7 separate regions of the Homo sapiens genome follow, and regions 1, 3, 4, 5, 6 and 7 are each linked to region 2. The links are contacts of gene promoters, found by promoter capture Hi-C in blood cells and fetal thymus (Javierre and others, 2016). All regions are on one chromosome and are shown on one strand. Each heading gives the region's core, a stretch centred on a gene start or on the middle of the fragment in contact. The rest is flanking DNA. Distances are from core to core; before and after follow the strand shown.

Evidence for each region. Contacts are between HindIII fragments. The CHiCAGO score rates a contact against its expected background, and 5 or more counts as called.
Region 1: a contact is called between the fragment with the promoter of MYPOP here and the fragment with the promoter of PPP5C in region 2, in 5 of 17 cell types (endothelial precursors, total CD4 T cells, erythroblasts and 2 more). The highest score is 7.9, in endothelial precursors.
Region 3: the fragment with the promoter of AP2S1 here is called in contact with the fragment with the promoter of PPP5C in region 2 in 1 of 17 cell types (monocytes); the score reaches 6.2 in monocytes.
Region 4: a contact is called between the fragment with the promoter of FKRP here and the fragment with the promoter of PPP5C in region 2, in 4 of 17 cell types (non-activated CD4 T cells, total B cells, naive CD4 T cells and 1 more). The highest score is 7.4, in non-activated CD4 T cells.
Region 5: a contact is called between the fragment with the promoter of NOVA2 here and the fragment with the promoter of PPP5C in region 2, in 13 of 17 cell types (M0 macrophages, erythroblasts, neutrophils and 10 more). The highest score is 13.0, in M0 macrophages.
Region 6: a contact is called between the fragment with the promoter of SLC1A5 here and the fragment with the promoter of PPP5C in region 2, in 1 of 17 cell types (non-activated CD4 T cells). The highest score is 5.8, in non-activated CD4 T cells.
Region 7: a contact is called between the fragment with the promoter of PGLYRP1 here and the fragment with the promoter of PPP5C in region 2, in 5 of 17 cell types (naive CD4 T cells, non-activated CD4 T cells, total CD8 T cells and 2 more). The highest score is 7.7, in naive CD4 T cells.

What each region holds. Positions count from the first base shown.
Region 1 is chr19:45,901,014-45,903,948 of GRCh38, reverse strand. It overlaps MYPOP (Myb related transcription factor, partner of profilin), which reads left to right and starts at 1,336. Exons shown (of 3, transcript NM_001012643.4): 1 at 1,336-1,379; 2 at 2,124-2,674. The coding sequence starts at 2,176. RefSeq lists silencers at 644-723, 1,284-1,333 and enhancers at 984-1,093, 1,524-1,573. The HindIII fragment of the contact is 7,646 bases long and covers 1-2,935 here.
Region 2 is chr19:46,345,757-46,348,729 of GRCh38, reverse strand. PPP5C (protein phosphatase 5 catalytic subunit) reads right to left here and starts at 1,643. Exons shown (of 13, transcript NM_006247.4): 1 at 1,513-1,643. The coding sequence starts at 1,633. RefSeq lists enhancers at 1,396-1,525, 1,626-1,805. The HindIII fragment of the contact is 16,758 bases long and covers 1-2,973 here.
Region 3 is chr19:46,849,515-46,852,399 of GRCh38, reverse strand. AP2S1 (adaptor related protein complex 2 subunit sigma 1) reads left to right here and starts at 1,554. Exons shown (of 5, transcript NM_004069.6): 1 at 1,554-1,636. The coding sequence starts at 1,634. RefSeq lists an enhancer at 1,230-1,539. The HindIII fragment of the contact is 13,627 bases long and covers 1-1,915 here.
Region 4 is chr19:46,744,577-46,747,433 of GRCh38, reverse strand. FKRP (fukutin related protein) reads right to left here and starts at 1,377. Exons shown (of 4, transcript NM_024301.5): 1 at 1,344-1,377. STRN4 (striatin 4) reads left to right here and starts at 984. Exons shown (of 18, transcript NM_013403.3): 1 at 984-1,285. The coding sequence starts at 1,004. RefSeq lists silencers at 559-608, 649-748, 789-938, 949-998, 1,209-1,438. The HindIII fragment of the contact is 3,497 bases long and covers 1-1,742 here.
Region 5 is chr19:45,972,427-45,975,126 of GRCh38, reverse strand. It overlaps NOVA2 (NOVA alternative splicing regulator 2), which reads left to right and starts at 1,262. Exons shown (of 4, transcript NM_002516.4): 1 at 1,262-1,860. The coding sequence starts at 1,776. RefSeq lists a silencer at 937-1,096. The HindIII fragment of the contact is 31,968 bases long and covers 1-2,700 here.
Region 6 is chr19:46,786,833-46,789,846 of GRCh38, reverse strand. SLC1A5 (solute carrier family 1 member 5) reads left to right here and starts at 1,253. Exons shown (of 8, transcript NM_005628.3): 1 at 1,253-2,447. The coding sequence starts at 1,882. RefSeq lists silencers at 936-1,095, 2,066-2,115, 2,126-2,175 and enhancers at 1,041-1,335, 984-1,585. The HindIII fragment of the contact is 4,388 bases long and covers 805-3,014 here.
Region 7 is chr19:46,021,685-46,024,384 of GRCh38, reverse strand. PGLYRP1 (peptidoglycan recognition protein 1) reads left to right here and starts at 1,332. Exons shown (of 3, transcript NM_005091.3): 1 at 1,332-1,650. The coding sequence starts at 1,364. RefSeq lists an enhancer at 1,839-2,700. The HindIII fragment of the contact is 5,413 bases long and covers 229-2,700 here.

The DNA.
Region 1 (2,935 bases), core at 87-2,586, 440 kb after region 2:
GCCTGCAACTCCTGGGCTCAAGCGATCCTCCCGCCTCAGCCTCCCAAGTAGCTGGGACTACAGGCATGTATTTTTTTTTTTTTTTTTTTTGAGACGGAGTCTCACTCTGTCGTCCAGGTGGAGTGCAGTGGTGCAATCTCAGCTCACTGCAACCTCTGCCTCCCGGGGTTAAGCGATTCTCGTGCCTCAGCCTCCCGAGTAGCTGGGATTACAGGCATGCACCACCATGCCCAGCTAGTTTTTGTATTTTCAGTAGAGATGGGGTTTCACTGTGTTGGCCAGGCTTGTCTCGAACCCCTGACCTCAGGTAATCCGCCCGCCTTGGCTTCCCAAAGTGCTGGGATTACAGGCGTGAGCTCCACCGCGCCCGGCCCAGGCTACGGATTTTAGCTTTTATGTTCATTGTACCAGGAACTGTGTAAGTGCTCATGTATATTTATTGAGTCGATGAATGAAGCACCAATTGTCGAATGACCTTGAGGACTCCTGCAGGATGCTAACGAACACACTTCTCAGCCGGACTGAGCTCCATCATCCTGCCATGCGGCTCACCCCACCTGCGTTCTGGCTTCATTCCTGTCTCCATGCACTTGCTTAAAGTCGTGCCGGCGTCAGGATCTCCCTTCCTACCAGCCAGGAAGCTCTTCCCTCTTATTTTCCCCGCTCCTCGAGGTAAAGGTGCGCACAGAGGGGCCCCCAAGGCGTGACTGGAAGGCTTGTGGGTCGCTATGGTTACTGCATCCGCCCGGGGCGGGACATCCCCAGGACGCCCAGCCTCTAGGGGTGCGAGGTGGGAAGCTCTGGAGCGGCCCAGCGCAGGGGCGGGCAAGCCAGGAGGCAAAGCGGTTTCCTCACGCCTCCACCCCACCCACACAGTTGTCAAGGAGACAAAGCGCTTCCCTTCAGCGCTGTCTCCCTCCCCTTTGGTTAGAGGGCAGGGTGGGCTGGAAGACTGTCCGAAAGGTTGGGTACTGGCGCGCTCCCAGCATCTCTCCCATCCAAGCTCGCAACGCCTGCGCCGAGACCCGGTACCGGGTACAACCCGAGGCACGCGCATGCGCGCGATGGAGTTTTTGCGCGTGCGCCGTTGTGGCCCCAGGAAGCTGGGGTACCCGCGCGGCGCTAACGTTGCGGCTGCGCAGTTGCGGCCTGCTGGTGGGGCTCGGCGGAGCGCAGTTCTGCGCCTGCGCTGTGCTGGGGTAGGTGGGAATGAAACCCTGGCGGTAAGGGCATTGGGGCCGACTGGCCCTGGGCGCGCCTGCGCCTTGGCATGCGGGGCGGCCGGAGGCGGGGCCGAAAGAGGGGAGGGAGGGAGGCGGGGGGTGGGAACAGGCCGCAGAAGCCCGAGCCCTGACCCACCGGCGGCTGCGGCGGAGCCGGTGAGTGACCCGTGGCCCGACTCGGTCCCCACCCTCCGCGACCTTCGCTCTCCCTGCCGTCCCCCGTAGCCTCCGTTGTCTCCTTGTGATACGGGACCCCCGTTATTTCCAGAGCTCCCCTTAATTTCTGGCAATCCCCAGAGCCCCCACAATCCTCGCAGACCCTGATCCCTAATATTTGATCGTTCCAGCTCTTCCAGTGATACAGGAGCTCCCACCTCACCATTATTCCTGGACATCCCTCTAAGGGCCCTTCTCATATCGGTCTTACAGACGCCCCGTTGCCCCCTAGAGCCCCTAGAGCGCCTCCTCTGCTCCAGATTCCCCCCTTCTTGCTGCATCCCCCCTTCCGCATCTCCTTATCTTCATGCATCTAAGACCCCCCCGAGGCACCCCCATCCTCCCTCCATTTCCTATCCTCCCGTGCCCCCATTCTCTAACTCCTGCAGACACCTCCTCTCCTCGCACTTTTCCTCCTTTCCTTCCATCCCTCCAGACCCTCCCCCAATTTCTATCAACTCTTCAGCGTGGCACTTCGCGCCGCGCGAAGTCCGAGCCAAGCGCTCAGCCGGTGTCAGCTACTCTTAGGCGCTTCCGACTTACCCGGGTGCCCGTCGCCCCCGCCCGCCCCCCGCCCCCACTCCTGCCCCCGGGGACTAAGGAGCTCTCGGCCCGGCGGTCTGGGAGAGGCGGCGGCGGGGGGACCCCGAACCCCAGCCAGCCCCGTGCGCCCTTTGCCCGCAGCGCCGGCGCCCCCCATGCGCCAGACGGCAGGACGGCGGCGTCGGGGGGCGCCATGGCCTCGGCGGCGGCGGGCGAAGCGGAGGAAACCACCCGGTTGCGCAAGCCGCGCTTCTCATTCGAAGAGAACCAGATCCTGATCCGCGAGGTGCGCGCCCACTACCCGCAGCTCTACGGCGCGCAGAGCCGTCGGGTGAGCGTGGCAGAGCGGCGGCGCGTGTGGGACGGCATCGCCGCCAAGATCAACGGTATCACCAGCTGGAAGCGCACGGGCCAGGAGGTGCAGAAGCGCTGGAACGACTTCAAGCGCCGCACCAAGGAGAAGCTCGCTCGCGTGCCGCACTCCACGCAGGGCGCCGGGCCCGCCGCGGAGGACGCTTTCTCCGCGGAAGAGGAGACCATTTTTGCCATCCTGGGGCCAGGTGTGGCGGCGCCGGGGGCAGGTGCTGGGGCGGAGGAGCCCCCTGCGGCCCCCTCTTCACAGCCGCCGCCCCCAAGCGCCTGCCCTCAGCGCTACGTGTTGTCGGAAGACCGCCGGGAGGACCGACGTGCAGGTGAGTGTCTTCAGAGTAGGCTGTGTGCCTGCGCTGTTGCAAGCCTTTTACATGTCTCATCAAAGCCTTGCTGCAGCCCTGTGAGGTGGATGCTGTCCTTCGCCCCATTTTATAGCTAGGGAAACTGAAGCTCAGAAAAATGAAATGACTTGCCTCAGTTCCGATAGCTAGTAACTGTCAAGAGCCAGGAATGGAACCAGATTTAGGAGGCCTGACTCAGGTCCACACCTGGGGTCATCAGCACAGGCAGGATTTCATTAA
Region 2 (2,973 bases), core at 394-2,893:
TCCCCCCTCTAGACCCTCTTACTAGATGATCTCATCCATTCCCAACCATAGTTTGATCACACCCAAATTCTTCTCCAGTCCAGACTGGCCCATTTACTTAATGTGTCTTCTTGTAGGGCTGGGCGTGGTGGCTCATGCCTGTAATCCCAGCACTTTGAGAGGCCGAGATGGGCGGATCACCTGCGGTCAGAGGTTCGACACCAGCCTGGCCAACATGGCGAAACCCCATCTCTACTAAAAGTACAAAAATTATCTGGGCATGGTGGTGTGCGTCTATAATCCCAGCTACTCGGGAGGCTGAGGCAGGAGAATCGCTTGAACCAGGGAGGCGGAGGTTGCAGTGAGCCGAGATTGCGCCATTGCACTCTAGCCTGGGCAAAAAGAGCAAAACTCCCGTCTCAAAAAAAAAAAAAAAAAAAAAATTCCAAACTGGTCTTTGTAATGACTCACGGAGACCCTGCATGATCTGGCCTCTGTCCTAATCTCATCTTGTTATTGGTCTCCCCCTAAGTAGCCAAAGCCCCAGCCATGCCAGTACCCTTTCATTCCCCATCCCAGGGCCTTTGCACAGGCTGCTTTACCTCCCTGGAACACTCCTCTCCAGTTCTCCCTCTGTGAGTTTCAGCTTAAACGCCTCCTGCTCAGTAAGGCCTTCCCCCACTACCCTATCTAAAGTAGCCTCCAACCCTTATTCTCTACTTCATCACACTGCTGGTTTGCTTTCAAAGCACTCATCACAATTTAAGTATTTTACTTATTTACATGGTTTTTTTTTGTTTTTTTTTTTTTCATGTCTGGTTCACCTGCAAAATTACAAGCTAAGGACAGGGCCACATCTGTCTCATTCACTGCTATATCCCCAAAGTCAAGCACAGTCCTTGGCACATAACAGGTACTCAATAAATATTTGTTGAATTAATGAATGAATGGGTGCCCCACACTTGACTCTCAATATTCTAAGTGATACTATTCTTAAGGATCCCCACCCTTACTCCCAAGGCCCCCACCATCACATTCCTTTTCCTCGGGTCAGCCCAAATCTCCTACTTCCTTGTTCCCCCCATCTAATGATCCATTCCCCACCCCCACGATTGCCTTCTCTATTGGGGCTGTGCCCCCTCTACCCCCCACTTGGCGGCACCCACCCCAGGACTCCCCATTTGGTAGCGCCATCAATCACTCCCCCACCACATGTCACTGCCTGGTAGCGCCCTCTACAGGCCTCACGTTTGGTAGCGCCCTCATTCCAGTCCCCCTCTCGCCCCACAATTGGTGGCGCCCTCCTCAGTCTCTCCACTGAGTAGCACCCGCTCCGCACGCCACTCCTAGGTATCACTCTCCGAAGCCCCCTATGTCGCTCCTTGGCAGCGCCATCCTGGGCCTCCCCACGCCCGGTCACTTGGTAGTGTCTGCCCCGCGCCCAGGCTGCAGCTCCGCGTTGCTATGGTTCCGCGCGGGCCCGGCACCCCTCAGCCTGGGCCACTGTCCACCCTCCCTGCCAGGCGGGCGCACCTTTGAAGTAGTCATTGGCCTGAGTCTTGAGCTCCTCTGCCCGCTTCAGAGCTCCATCAGCCGGGGGTTCGTCCCGGGGGGGCTCAGCACACTCAGTCCTCTCGCCCTCCGCCATCGCCATGCCGCAAAGCGACCCCTACCCTGGCAACGGCCGCCAGCGGCACCCGGCCGAACCGTCGCGAAGGAGCGCCGGGTGGCCGCCGCCGCTGCCGCACAAGTGTCGTAAAGCGCGGGCCCTGAAGGCGCCCTTCACGCGCCTGCGCAGGTCCCTTTCGCCACAGAGCGCGCGGAGGACAAGGTGACCAGAGGTTCCCCAGACGGTACCCCTGGTAGAGAGAGCCAATAGGGAATGAGAGAAGGGGCGCGCGGGGAAACAGACCTGGTGTGGCCTCTCCTCCCAAAGTTACCGTGTTCCAAGGCTGTAAAAAGTTTCTCGGTTCTGAAAGTGGGATTTCCCCGCTGTCCTCTAGGGTTGGGGGGTGGGTTGTGAATGTCGCTGGCGGGTGTGGCTGTTTTGCAAGGCAGCGCCATGCCCTACGCGGAGCCGGACCCGGGCGTCGAGCCCTATTGTCGACTACCTGTGTGACCTTGAACAAATCTTCCCTTCCTCTCTAGGGTCTCAGTTACCCATCTCTGAAAAATTAGTGGTTTCTCAAGCCAAAAAGGGTCCAACCTTGAGGGTCAGTGTTTGAGTTTTTAACTGAAGGCACTCTGGATTTCAAGTCCTGAGCAAGGCTTAGAAGTGTGTTGCACCATCTCCTTTCTTCCTGTGTTCAGCTTCCCAAATCCTGAATCTTCAAATAAACTCTCCTGTTTGTGTTTTTACAGATTCTCTTGTCTGAGATCACAGCATTGATTGCATGCACTCTGCCTCCCTCCAGTTTACCCTTCACATTTTTTTTTTTTTTTTTTTTTTTTTGAGAGGGAGTCTCCCTCTGTCGCCCAGGCTGGAGTGCAGTGGCGCCATCTAGGCTCACTGCAACCTCCGCCTCCCGGTTTAAGCGATTCTTCTGCCTCAGCCTCCCAAGTAGCTGGGATTACAGGCGCCCGCCACCATGCCCGGCTAATTTTTGTATTTTAGTAGAAACGGGTTTCACCACGTTGGCCAGGCTGGCCTCGAACTGCCGACCTCAAGCTATCCGCCCGCCTCGGCCTCCCAAAGTGCTGGGATTACAGGCGTGAGCCACCGTGCCCGGCCGAGGGATCTTTCTAAGACATGATAAAACCATGGCACACTCTCGCTCCCAGGCTTCCATGGCCCCAGCACCCTTAGGAGAAAACCCAAACTCCTGATTAGGAGACCCTGAATAGTCTTAACCTCAGGCTGAATAGTCTAATATCCAGATTCCACCCCTTTGCCAATCCCCACCCGCCGTACACGCTTCCAGTCTGTCCTTTCTAAGCCCTCATGTAGCACTAAGTCCTGTAAGGCTCTGGATCCCCTCCTGGAAGCACACTCCT
Region 3 (2,885 bases), core at 305-2,804, 500 kb before region 2:
ACATACTCATAGGGCAAATAAAATAATTTTTAAAATGTAATAAAGGCCATTTAAAAAATCACGCCTGTAATCTCAATACTTTGGGAGGTGGAGGAGGGAGGATCGCTTGAGCTCAGGAGTTCAAGAGCAGCCTAGGCAACATAGCAAGACCCTGTCTCTACAAAAAGTACAAAAAATTAGCCAGGTGTGACGGCATGTGTATGTAGTCTCAGCTACTCGGGAGGCTGAAGTGGGAGGATCACTTGAGCCCAGCAGGTTGAGGCTTCAGTGAGCTGAGATCATGCCACTGCGCTACAGCCTGGGTGACCAAGGGAGACCCTCTTTCAGAAAAAAGCAAAAACAAAGACACACCAAAAAAACACTAAACTAACTGCTGACCTGGAGGGTTTTTTTTTTTTTTGACAGAGTTTCGCTCTTGTCATTCCAGCTAGGGTGCAATGGTGTGATCTCGGCTCACTGCAACCTCTGCCTCCCAGGTTCAAGCAATTCTCCTGCCTCAGCTTCCCGAGTTGCTGGGATTACAGGCACCTGCCATCACACCCAGCTAATTTTTATATTTTTAGTAGAAATGGTTTCACCGTGTTGGCCATGCTGGTCTCGAAGTCCTGACCTTAGGTGATCCACCCACCTCAGCTTCTCAAAGTGCTGGGATTACAAGCATGGGCCATCATGCCCCCGCCAAACTAGAGATTTTTTTTTTTTTTTGGAGTCTCTCTCTATTGCCCAGGCTGGAGTGCAGTGGCGAGATCTGGGCTCACTGCAACCTCTGCCTCCGGGCTTCAAGTGATTCTCCTGCCTCAGCCTCCCGAGTAGCTGGGACTACAGGTGCGCACCACCATGCCTGGCTAATTTTTTGTATTTTTAGTAGAGATGGGGTTTCGCCATGCTGGCTAGGCTGGTCTCGAACTCCTAACCAAGTGATCTGCCTGCCTCGGACTCCCAAAGTGCTGGGATTACAGGAGTAAGCCACCGCGCCGGGCCGGTTCAAATTTATGCTTTTAAACTGTTGTCTCCCGAGAGACACACGCAACGTATTTTAAGCAAAACACTGGCTTGGTGTTGTGGTGGCTCATGCCTGTAATCCTGGTGATTTGGAAGGCTGAGGGTCGCTTGAAGCTGAGTTCGAGATCAACCTAGGCAATATATCTAGACCCCTGTCTCTATTTTTAAAAAAATTAAAGAAATCACTGGATGAGGAATGGAAAGACATTTTCTATCTCCCCAGGACAGTTTTTTAAAATTTAAAACTACTATTCCCAGCATGCCCTTCTCCCCTGGGTGGGGGGAGGGGACCTAAGAGAACTACATTTCCCTGAATGCAACGCCTTCACCGCTGGTTCTTCAGCATCTCGGGAATTGTAGTCCTCTGTAAAGATGTTTGTCCACAAATCCCAGCATGCACTTGGGATCTGACTCGTTTGGTAGGAAAAGGACTGGCTCTGACTCTTCACCCATCTTCACCCAGGCTGGCCCCTTTGGTGAAACTACAACTCCCAGGGGTCTGTGCGCGAGAAGGCAGGCGGGTTTTTCTACCGGAAGTCCGCTCTAGCTCTGGGCCCTACAACTGCACCCTGAGCCGGAGCTGCCCAGTCGCCGCGGGACCGGGGCCGCTGGGGTCTGGACGGGGGTCGCCATGGTAACGGGGGAGCGCTACGCCGGGGACTGGCGGAGGGGGGGCCCACGCGTAAATAGCCGAGGCTGGATCGGGCGCTGACAAGTCCCTTCTCTGCCGCGGATGGTCTGGGTCAGGCGCGGGCTCTGGGGATTGGGACCGATCCAGGGCCGGGAAGGAGGGCACAGGGCGGTGATTCTGCGCGCGGGGGTTACCAGGGGTCTCGCGGCGACGGGCATTGGGGGTGGTGTTCCAAGGGGAAAGGGCTGTGCAGGTGGGAAACGTTGTAGATGGTTGGAAGCTTTGAAACGAGAGGAAACTCGTGAGACACAGTCTTGTGGGTAGCGAGAAGGCATTGGAGGTGGGGAGAGGGCGTCCGAAAGAGGAAGGCGCTCTGGAAGTGTGGCGGGAGCGCTGGGACGAGAACGCGAGACCTTGGAAAAGGGGAGGGAGGTTTTCTTGATGGGAGGAGTCTCTAGAGACAAGGATCTGATTGCAGGTGGAGAGGGGATGTTGAGACAGGGGCAGGAGACTGCCTGTGAGAGAGGGATGATCTCAAGAAGAGACCTGGCACAGGAAACCAAAAGGAGGCAACTGTAGGGAATGAAACTTAAGGGTCTGGGAAAGCGCTGTAAAAGGAGAGAGGACCTGGAGGTAAGATGGACACTCGGAAAGAATGGGGAGCAACTGAATAGGTCTTTCCAAGAGGAGAGATCTTGTGGGGTGGGGAGTAGGCTTGAAAGTGTGAGACCTGGGGAGGAATCTTTGTTGGGGCAAAGACTCAACATTGGATTTAGGAGTGCCCCTATCCCCCAGGTTGGGGCTTTGGATCTAGGAAAGGGTTCTTTGGGCTGGAAGTTGGGAAAGAAAACGAATGAGAAAGAGTGTCAGAGCGGGGGCGGAGTCTCCTCCAGGAACAGGGTCCTTGGAGGCAAAATGTGACCTTTTGAAGAAGGGAGGAAGCTTGGGAGTGGGACAAGGGATGTCACCAGTAAAAAGCCCATTGAGGCCCCAAGGAGGGGAACTGAGACTGAGAAAGTGGAGGTCAAAAGGGAACAACTCCAGAGGAGGGGGATTGGAGACAGGGAAGGTTGGGGGGCATCTAGAGGGGACAGCAGAGGCGTGAGGATGCAGAGATTCAGGACGGAGGGGACTTGAGATTCCAAATGGGAAGAAAACAGGGAGAGGTATACAAGGGAATTTGGGAGTAAGAGGCAGAGCTTTTTGTCAACTCTGTGGGTTTGCTTCTAGTTCTCCTAACTGTGTGAATATG
Region 4 (2,857 bases), core at 128-2,627, 400 kb before region 2:
CAACAAGAGTTACACTCTGTCTCAAAAAAAAAAAAAAAAAAAAAAATCCCCTCCTTTGTTGGGCTTGGTTCCTAGGGTCACTCGAAGGGGGCTGCTCTATTATCATAGTAACCAGGCCTTGAACTTGCCTGTTTCTCACCTTCCGGAGGAAGGTCCAGGCCCTGTAACCATAGCAACTGCCCCTCAGCAGAGCATCTCCTCTAAATAAAAACACCTGGTTAGTTTGGTGCATGGGCCTCCCACGATGGGAAGGGGAAGACGGTTACCATGGTAATGCCAACTAGGTGGCTATGGGGGAGGGGCTGGGGAAGAGGTGCTTCTCTTAGAGATCAGTGTCCTTGGGGCTGGGGTCCTTTCTACCTGAATGCTAGGTGGGGGGGAGGTTGCCATAGTAATCAATGAGGATAGGAGCAGAAGGACCACCACGGACACTTAGGTTACCTTAGCAACCTTCTCCTGGTGCAGAGTCCTAAGAGGTTTGGGGCTCCATAACCACAAAGGTGGAAGCGAGGGGAAGGCTGCTCCCCACCACCTCGCCCCCACCGCTGGGGAAGGGTTACCATGACAACCAACCTGGCCGGCAATCAGAGAGGATGGGGCCACTGCTGGTCGCCCTTTCTCTCAGAGTAAAAGTAATTGTCCAGGAGAGTGGTGTTTGGGTGTGGAAGGGGTAAGGCTCTTTCTCTGGGGCGAAGTGGGAGGAGGGGGGCAGAAAGCGGCCCCTTCCTCAGTCTCACTCCAGCGAGGGGGACCGTCGCGCGGGGCCTGGGTCTCCCTCGCCCTCCTCGGGGCGCGATCTCCCACCCGCCGGCCCCCGCGCGGGCACGCTACCCTTCGGTGTAGACCCGGGTGGGCGAGGCTCGCGCTCGCCGCCGGCCCCCCTTCCTACTGTCCCCCGCCGGGCGCGCGCGCGGTGGTTGCGGCGGGGGAGGGGGGGGGGTGTTGGCGCGGCCGCGCAGGCGCGCGAGGCACAGCGGGCGCGCAGGCCGGCCCCGGGGCCTCCATGATGGAGGAGCGAGCGGCCGCCGCGGTCGCCGCCGCCGCCTCCTCCTGCCGTCCGCTCGGCTCAGGCGCGGGCCCTGGCCCCACTGGGGCGGCCCCGGTCTCCGCCCCTGCCCCCGGGCCGGGCCCGGCAGGTAAGGGAGGCGGCGGCGGAGGCAGCCCCGGGCCCACGGCGGGCCCGGAGCCCCTGAGCCTGCCGGGGATCCTGCACTTTATCCAGCACGAGTGGGCGCGCTTCGAAGCCGAGAAAGCCCGCTGGGAGGCCGAGCGCGCCGAGTTACAGGTGAGCGCTGTCCCGGGACCCCCGACCCCCAACCCGGCCCGGCCCGGCCCGGCCTCACCCGCTGCCGCCGCCGCCGCCATCTTGGAGCAATGGCCGCCGGGACGGCCGGCGGGGGGGCGGGAGGGGACCGCGACGGTCCCGGAGGGCGAGTGAGGGGCCGTCCGAGGGGTGTCCTGAGGGCACTCCGGGGTGGGACGGGACCGGGACGGCCCGAGGTGGGAGTGGAGGGACCGGGGGTGGGAGGGATCACCGGGACCGGCCGAGAGAAAGGGGCGGAGGGACCACAACCAGCTGGGAGTGGGACTGGGACTGGGACTGAGCACGCTGGCCGCGGGGCTCCTGAGAGAGGCGACTCGAGCCCTGGAGGGGAGGCTAAGAGAACTCGGGAAAGGGTGTGGAGAGGAGCTGGAGGGGTCTGGGAGACCTGAGTGGTCTCCTGTGGGAGTAAGCAGAAGCTTGCCGGGCGCCGAGGGACTCCCGACCCCGACCCCGACCATGGCCCTAGCCAGGTGCAGGTTGGAGGTGGGAGCGTCCAAGGGGGGAACTTGGGACCCGCTGGGAAAGAGCGGGTCCAGATGGGGAACCGGGAGGATTTAGGGAGAGGAAGTCGGGAACCTGGGATCGGTGTGTTTCGGGGCGACTGGACGGTGGGCACGGAAGGAGGGCTGTGTAAGGACCCGAGGGGTGGGAGGAGGGTTTCAAGGGGTCCAGGATGAAGGTGTGTGCCTTCCCCTCTGAGGAGAAACTTTGGGGATCCCGGGCATGTGTGGCTGCACAGTGCAGGGAAGGGTTCTTTGGAGTGGAAGTGTGGACAGAGCAGGGAATGTACCCTAGGAGCCTGGATGGGAGAGCTTAAGAGTGGAAGTTCCACTTTGGGGGTGTGCAGGAGTGGGCGCGATGGCACTGAGATGGCACGTGTGTTGTAGGATGTAGGTAGAGAGCCCTGAACTGGAGTGTGGGGTGTTGGGCATGTCCAGTATGGAGGTGAGGGTCCTGGGATGGTGCCAATGAGGACGAGTTAGGGGTTACCCTGGGGTGATGCTTTAGGGGGGAGAATTTTGTAGAGCCCGAAGGCAACATGAGGAGGCATCTCGGAACGGGGGTAGACTGGGGTTGGGGGGAAGGGGATATGTTTGTGGAAGTCTTGGGAAAAGACCCCGTGGTTTTTGGGGTAGCTTGGGACAGGGATGTTGAATGGAAGAGTCTGAGGAGTTGGGCTAGGGTTTGTGACCTCGTGGAGCGTCAGGTCCATTGGCAGTGACTGGAGGACCATGGAGATGTCCGGATTTGAAGGGATCAGGAATGGCCCGCTGGAAGTCTGAAGATTCTTGGACTGGGTTATTATTAGCAGAAATTGTCATTACCTGCTTGTAGCAGCCCACCTTTCCCCTTCCGATTTGCCGTTTGCTATCTAGTAGGAAGCTGGTACCCAAATAAATAGCTGATGAGAATTGTGTCGGTAGGGATGGGGTGCGGTGGCTCACGCCTGTAATCCCAACACTTGGGGAGGTTGAGGTGGGAGAATCCCTTGAGCCCAGGAGTTCGAGGCCAGCCTGGCCAACATAGCAAGAC
Region 5 (2,700 bases), core at 13-2,512, 370 kb after region 2:
GTTTCTCTCTCTCAAGCTGTGTGCCCTTGAAGAAGCCACCCTCAATGTTCCCAGGCCTCCACTTTGTCATCTGAAAACAAATTTTTCTTAATGACATGAGTAGTAATACTGTACAAGGGCCAAGGCTGTTTTGTTCTCTATTGTATCGCAGCATCAGGGACAGTGCCTGGCACTTAGTAGGTAGGCCCTGAGTGCTGTTGTTTGAATGGAGAGCCAGTTGTGCCCCAGGGCAGGTGCTGCAGGCTGCAACTCCAGCTCAGTGAATTCAATCCTCTGAGCCCTTTCAGCATCACGGTGTTGATTCTTCAAAGGATGGATGAAAGATTTGAAGGGGAATTTCCCAGCTGAAAGGATTGAAAAAGAGTGAAGTGAAATTTCTTTCTCTTTCTTTCTTTCTTTTTTTTTTTTTTTTTTGAGACAAGGTTTTGCTCTGTCTCCCAGGCTCGAATCTAGTTGCTTGATCATGGCTGACTGCAGCCTCAAACTCCTGTGCTCAAGAGATCCTCCCACCTCAGACTCCAGAGTACCTGGGGCTACAAGCATGTGCTACCACGCCTGGCTAATTAAAAAAAAAATTTTTTTTTTGTAGAGATGGGGTCTCACAATATTGTTGCCCAGCTCGTCTCAAACTCCTGGGCTCAAGTGATTCTTCCGCCTCGGCCTCCCAAAGTGCTGGGATGACAGGCATGAACCACCGCGCCTAGTCGAAATTTCTTGTCTTGACCAAGTGAAGTCAAAGTAAGCTCCTAAGGCTGTTTCCTCATCTGTAAAATAGGGATAATAAGCGTAACTCACAGAGCTGGTCGCTCTGGGGAGTAAATGCGATAACGTCTGTGACGTGCTTGCTTGGAACCGGACCTGGCACACAGTAAGTGCTCAATAAACGTTCATTCAAGGTGAGGAGTGGGGACGGCTTGGAGGAGCCCGGGGTCCTCCCAGCAGCCTGGGGGAGTCGGGTCCAGCTCTCTGCCGCCGGGAGGGGCGTGGCCAACCCAGAGGGACGTGGTCCAGGCTTCAAGGCTGGACCAATGGGGGCGCCGAAGGGCGTGGCCCTACCCGGCATGGGCGTGACCTCGTTGGGTGGGAGGGGCCAGGCGCTGTGGGAGCCTCCGGGAAGAAGATGCTCGGGCCAGCAGCCACCGCCAGCCCCGTCGCCGCCGCCGCCCGCGCCCGCCGCCCCCCGGGCCCCCACTAGCGGCCGCCTCCGCCTCCCACTCCGGCCACGCTCCTCCGGCCCCCCACCCCGAGCAGGGTCTGGGGGGCTCGGCCCTCTTGCCCCAGGGAGCCAAGAAGAAGCGGGGAGTCCCGTCCCCCCAGTGGCGCGTCCAGTCCCCAGCCTCTGTGGTCCCAGGAGAGACCCCACCTCTCAGTTCTTTCCCGGCCCTATCGGAGACCCCCCTCGGCCCTGCCATCCTGCTCACGGCCGCTCTCCAGGCTCTGTCAGCCCCCCGAGAACCGGCTCCCCCCTACCCCCGCCTTCCCTCTCCGGGGCTCCCCCTCCCCCATCCCTCCACCGCCCCCTCCCCCTCCCACCTCCCCTCCCCTCCCCCTCCCCCGCCCCCCGCCCCCCGCCCCCCCCCACCATGAGGATGATGGCCGCCGGCGCGGTGCACGGCCTCTTCACGGCCTCCGCGGCCCCGCAGCCGCCGCCGCCCCCGCCGCCGCCGCCGCCGCAACCCCAGCCTCCCCAGCAGCCGTCGCCGCCGCCACAGCAGCCGCCGCCGCCGCCGCCGCAGCCGCCGCAGCAGCAGCAGCCGCCGCCCCAGGCCCCCCCCATGGAGCCCGAGGCCCCGGATTCCCGCAAGAGGCCCCTCGAAACGCCCCCCGAGGTGGTCTGCACCAAGCGCAGCAACACGGGAGGTGAGAAAGGGCTGCGGCTCGGGGCGGGGGAGCGGGCAGGGGGCCTCGCCTTTCTCCATCCTTTCCCCCCCTCCCGTGGCAGGTGCAAGGGCTCTGGGGAGGGGAGAGACACCCCTCCCCGAGGCGGGGGACAGAGCGGGGAGTTGAGGAGGGGGCTGGACCCCCTCCTCCTCTCGCTGAGGCCCGGGGCTGGGAGCTTTGTCTGCGAGGAGAGGGGTGGGGGGGAGGGGGTGATAAGTGTCCTTGGGGGGCGCAGAAGATGGGGGGCGTGGGAGCCTCAGGGCAGGTGTCTGTGTGTCCTTGAGGGGTGTGTGATGTGACCCTTTCGGAGCAGGGGTGTTCCCCGAGCTCGCGTGTCCTGGCTGGGGGAGGGGAAGGAGTAGAGGCCTGTGGACCGGGAGCTTCCCAGCCTCCCTCCCTGGGGATGTCCTGAACAAGGGTTGTCCCAGATGGAGGCTTGTGTGGCCCTGGCCGGATCGTGCGTGGGGACAGGCTGGGTAGGTGTGTGGGGTGAAATGGAGGAAATGGTGGGTGTGTAAAGCTAGGTGGGAGAATGTGAGGCTAGGACAGGTGTGTATGTGTGTGCGTGTGTGTGTATGTGTGCCCTCTACAGCCTGGATGTGTGACATTAGGGATCAGGAATATGACAGCATAGGGGGGTGTATGAGAAAGACAGGGGACAGGGGCTGGGCTCCATGTTTGAGACCCTCCAGCGGGTACGTGTGACAAGGAAAGGTGTGTGCTTGTCACCCCCAAGGGGGCTGTGGCAGAGTGTGACACATGAGAGGGTGTGTGTGACATGCAAGGAGGTGTGTGGGGGACACCGAATGGGCTGGCTCT
Region 6 (3,014 bases), core at 4-2,503, 440 kb before region 2:
ATGTGCCACCACACCCAGCTAATTTTTGCATTTTCAGCAGAGACAGGGTTTTGCCATGTTGGCCAGGCTCGTCTGGAACTCCTGACCTCAAGTGATCTGCCCGCATCAACTCCCAAAGTGGTGGGATAACAGGCGTGAGCCACTGCGCCCGGCCGTATTATCTCATTTGAACCCTTGCAACACTCAAGGCGGTATGACTTATTATTATTCCCATTTACACATATGAAGACTGAGCCTCATAGAGGTTGTAAATTACCTGAGGCCTCACAGCTGCTGTAGGAGGAAGCTTCTGACATTACCACTACAATCTTTGAGCAAGCATGAAAGCCTGAAATGTCACAGAACAGGCTAGAGATGGGAAAGGAATGAGGATTTCAACACTGTCAGGTGGAGTAAGGAATCATAATTCATTGTTAACCTCCCAAACGGCCACTAACAGAGAATTTGGGGAGGCAGCAGAGTGGGTGCGGTTAGGGGCTTGGGAGGTGGGCATGCACGTGTCATCCTCTCTAGGTGTGGCCTCAAGGTGAATGACTTCCTCTGCCTCTGGGGTTCAAGCGATTCTCCTGCCTCAGGCTTCCAGTAGCTGGGATTACAGGCACGTGCCACCACACCAGGTAATTTTTGTATTTTTAGTAGAGACGGGTTTCACCATGTTGGCCAGGCTGGTCTCGACCTCCTGACCTCAAGTGATCCGCCCGCTTCACCTCCCAAAGTGGTGGGATTACAGGCTTGAGCCACGGCTCCCTAAATAAATACATCAATTTTATTTAAATCTTACAGCAATCATATGAGACAAAAGCTTTTAACACCTGCACTTTATATTCGAGGAATTAAAGTTCTCAGAGGCGACTAAAGACCAAACTCAGGGCTGAGGAGTTCCAAAGCTGAGTTGAGTTGCAAATGAATCACCGAGGACCACCGGAGCTTTCTAGCGACCCTCGCACCAGGGAACGAACCCCTGTGGTTTAAGGGCTCCAACCCACAACCCAGTTCCTTTGGCGGGAAACAGCACCCTCCCAAGGCCCCGCCCCTTCCTGGCCCCGCCCCGTCGTCTCTGGGCCCGGCTCCTGGAGATGGGTATTATTAATCTGCCTTCTATGGGGGACCTGGCCCATCTCGGGTATCAGCCCCGCCCCTACTCGTCCAGTCTCCGAACGCTCTGCAGCCAATCGGCGCCCGAGGGTCGGTCCCCGCCTTCTCAAGCCCCGCCCCCTACCCTTATCCCTGGCAGCTTCCGCTAAACGGGCTCAGAGCCACGCGGCACGCCCGGGAGGCTTTCTCTGGCTGGTAACCGCTACTCCCGGACACCAGACCACCGCCTTCCGTACACAGGGGCCCGCATCCCACCCTCCCGGACCTAAGAGCCTGGGTCCCCTGTTTCCGGAGGTCCGCTTCCCGGCCCCCAGATTCTGGCATCCCAGCCCTCAGTGTCCAAGACCCAGGCAGCCCGGGTCCCCGCCTCCCGGATCCAGGCGTCCGGGATCTGCGCCACCAGAACCTAGCCTCCTGCAGACCTCCGCCATCTGGGGGCACTCAACCTCCTGGAGCCAAGGGCCCCACGTCCCACCCAGAGAAACTCTCGTATTCCCAGCTCCTAGGGCCAAGGAACCCGGGCGCTCCGAACTCCCAGCTTTCGGACATCTGGCACACGGGGCAGAGCAGAGAAGCCTCAGCGCCCAGCCTGGGGAATTTAAACACTCCAGCTTCCAAGAGCCAAGGAACTTCAGTGCTGTGAACTCACAACTCTAAGGAGCCCTCCAAAGTTCCAGTCTCCAGGTGCTGTTACTCAACTCAGTCCTAGGAACGTCGGGTCCTGGGAAGGAGCCCAAGCGCTCCCAGCCAGCTTCCAGGCGCTAAGAAACCCCGGTGCTTCCCATCATGGTGGCCGATCCTCCTCGAGACTCCAAGGGGCTCGCAGCGGCGGAGCCCACCGCCAACGGGGGCCTGGCGCTGGCCTCCATCGAGGACCAAGGCGCGGCAGCAGGCGGCTACTGCGGTTCCCGGGACCAGGTGCGCCGCTGCCTTCGAGCCAACCTGCTTGTGCTGCTGACAGTGGTGGCCGTGGTGGCCGGCGTGGCGCTGGGACTGGGGGTGTCGGGGGCCGGGGGTGCGCTGGCGTTGGGCCCGGAGCGCTTGAGCGCCTTCGTCTTCCCGGGCGAGCTGCTGCTGCGTCTGCTGCGGATGATCATCTTGCCGCTGGTGGTGTGCAGCTTGATCGGCGGCGCCGCCAGCCTGGACCCCGGCGCGCTCGGCCGTCTGGGCGCCTGGGCGCTGCTCTTTTTCCTGGTCACCACGCTGCTGGCGTCGGCGCTCGGAGTGGGCTTGGCGCTGGCTCTGCAGCCGGGCGCCGCCTCCGCCGCCATCAACGCCTCCGTGGGAGCCGCGGGCAGTGCCGAAAATGCCCCCAGCAAGGAGGTGCTCGATTCGTTCCTGGATCTTGCGAGGTCAGCTCCCGCTCCCCCGGGAGGTGGGGAAGAGTGTTACGGATGGCGGGAGTGGTCACGTGGACAGGACGGGGCTTTGGGGCCCCTGGAGCAGAGACTTCCCTCTAGAGTCTTAGGAAAACTCGACAGGATATTGAGGGGAGGCTCCAGCCCTCGGGAGTGTGAGTCTAGTCTCCTGGGGAAGGGGTTTCTAAATCTGGGGGCCTGGGTACATAAGTGGGGTCTTATAGAGGGAGAAGAAAGTGATTTGGGGAGACATAGGAGGGTCTGCCTAGGGGAGAAAGACACTGAGGGGAGGGGACCCCAGGAGGAACTTTTGCGGGGGGAATCTTTGCGTGGTCAAGGGCCCCAAGATGGGGCTTCTAGATATAATTTGGGGCCAGGGTTGGAGAGTTTGGGTAAGGAGCCCCTGGAGGATCTGAGATCTGAGTAACTCCCACCAGGCCCTCTTCCCAGCCCTGGGGCACCCCCACACCACGTGTCACTCGGACATAACCAGGCTCTGTTTTTGGCCTCCGCTTCCCGCCCATTTCAGCTGGGGTCTGGCCGCTTCCCCTTTATCTTTTA
Region 7 (2,700 bases), core at 83-2,582, 320 kb after region 2:
GCCCATGAAATATTAGGTGACAAAAGGTAAATTGATGCACATGGTTTTGATTTTTTTTTTTAATGTCCTTATATAAGTTTGTAGGGAGGAGAATACGGTTTATAACTCTGCAGGCAGAAAGCCTGTAGCCAAACCCTGGCTTCATCACCTCCTGTATGTGATCATCCCCCCGGGCCTCAGTTCCGTCAACTGTAAGAGGGGTTAATAATAACATGGATCTGGCAAGCTTGTCGTTGAGTATATGATAATTTCTGAAAAGTGCTACAGATGCCTGGTGCACAATTCAGTAACAGCATGAGTACAATGTATATGAGAAGGCAGAACACAGAAGATGAAAACACACCACACAGGTCAGGCACGGTGGCTCATGCCTATAGTAATCCCAGCACTCTGGAACACTGGCAGGTGGCTCACCTGAGGTCAGGAGTTCGACACCAGCCAGGCCAACATGGCAAAACCCCGTCTCTACCAAAAATATAAAAATTAGCTGGGCGTGGTGGTGTGCACTTGTAATCCCAGCTACTCAGGAGGCTGAGGCAGGAGAATCACTTGAAGCCAGGAGGCGGAGGTTGCAGTGGCCCAAGATCGCACCATTGCACTCCAGCCTGGGTGACAAGAGCAAAACTCCATCTCAAAAAAAAAAAAAAAAAAAAAGGAAAATATTATTTATAAAATAGAAAATTAAAAAAAAAATTTTAAATACACATTTTTAAAAACCACTTGCAGGCTCTCACACACTGCATATCCAGGATTCACATGCAGGCAGCCTGGCTCTAGACGCGGGGCTCCAGTGCCTCCGGTGTCTCAGCCCGTGACTTCCCTGCTCTCAACCTCAGTTTACTCCACTGTGAAATGGACTTCCAGATACTCACCTCTTGAGTTTGCTGCAAGCGTAAATGGCATCAGGCTTGGACCTGGGGGAAGGAAGTGTTTTTAAAATGGGTAGCTTTGTTACCTCAGTCCTTGCGGGGAGAAGATGTGCCAATGCCCCGGGCCTCTGCGATGTAAGTTCCTGTTGAGTTGTTCAATGTTCCACTGAGAGGAGAGACAAGCAGGACCGGGATCCCGGCCCCGGGTCTTCCAGAAACGGCGGGGCGAAGCGCCCAGGGGCCTGTGCGTCCCTCCCTGCTGAGCGAGGGGGCCTGTCATTGCCGTGGGCGTGACCCAGACCCCAACCACAGTGCATCCCGCCCTGGCCCAGCCAGAGAAGGAAGCTGAGTCTGGGGTCTGCTGGGCCAGCAGGAAGTCCCAGCAGGGTGTGAAGCAAGACTTTCCGGGCCACTCCTGGAATCCCCCAGCAGATAAAGGCGGCCCCTCCACCGGGCGCTCCTAGCGGTCTCCCGGACCCTGCCGCCCTGCCACTATGTCCCGCCGCTCTATGCTGCTTGCCTGGGCTCTCCCCAGCCTCCTTCGACTCGGAGCGGCTCAGGAGACAGAAGACCCGGCCTGCTGCAGCCCCATAGTGCCCCGGAACGAGTGGAAGGCCCTGGCATCAGAGTGCGCCCAGCACCTGAGCCTGCCCTTACGCTATGTGGTGGTATCGCACACGGCGGGCAGCAGCTGCAACACCCCCGCCTCGTGCCAGCAGCAGGCCCGGAATGTGCAGCACTACCACATGAAGACACTGGGCTGGTGCGACGTGGGCTACAAGTGAGTGTGGCAGGGGGGCACGGGCTGGACTGGGGATCCCAGAGGCAAAGGTGTGCAAGTGCCCGCCAGCGGGACCATTTCTAGGCCTGGTGCTGAGGCCACCTGGCTGACACCCTGAGCAGCTTACTGAACCTCACAAGGTCATTTCTTCCTCGGGTCACCACGTGGGCCGGGGCAGGTGCTCACAGCACAAAGATGCGTGAGAAGGGGGGATGGGCTGAAATCCAAGCCCCGCTCCCGCTCCCGGGAAGAAGGGGCAGGCTTTGCCTAACACACACCAAGGTGTCCGCGACGCCTTATGAAGGCGCCCCTTCCTGATGCCTGGTGCCTTTGTTAGGAGGCGGAAAACCAGGCTGACTCAGTGCGGAGCTGGGTTCCAGGGTCAGCTCATCTTATTGCTGGCTGAGGCCTGGGGCGGGTCCTCCCGGCTTCAGCTTCCTCCTCGGCAAAGTCAATGGAATCGCGGCCCATCTGCTCCTTATATGAGCCAATACAGGCAAAGCACCTAGGAACTGCCTGGCACACGGGGGCCCGCAAAGCCACGGGCTATTACCATTAGGCACCTACTATGTGCCAGGCAGTGTGCCAGATGTGGCATGGAGAACGGTGCCACTCTAGCCTCCTGGGGTTGAAAGACCAGCAGGGAGAAACAAGCCAAGGCCACAGGTGAATTCAGACGGTGATAGAGGCGATGGATAAAAGGAAAGAGGTGAGGGAGGGTGACCTCAGGCTGGGACCAGACCCACACAGGCTCCTTGGAAGGGTGGGGCAAGGGAAAGCCTCCCTGAGAGTGGCTGCCTTGGCTCTGGGATGGGGGAGCAGACAGAGGCCTGCAGGTGGCAGGGGGTGCTGGGGGCAAAGCCAACGGGGTTGAGTGGGCGGGTCCTGTGGGAAGGACAGGGTGGCTGAACACAGCCGGGCGAGCGGAATGAAATGAGGAAAGGGCAGGACCAGGCAGGGCTTTGTGGACCACAGTGAGGACTGTAGCTTTTACTCCGAGATGGGAGCCATGGGAGGCTTCCCCCCGCAGAGCAGGGACCAGGGCTAGTG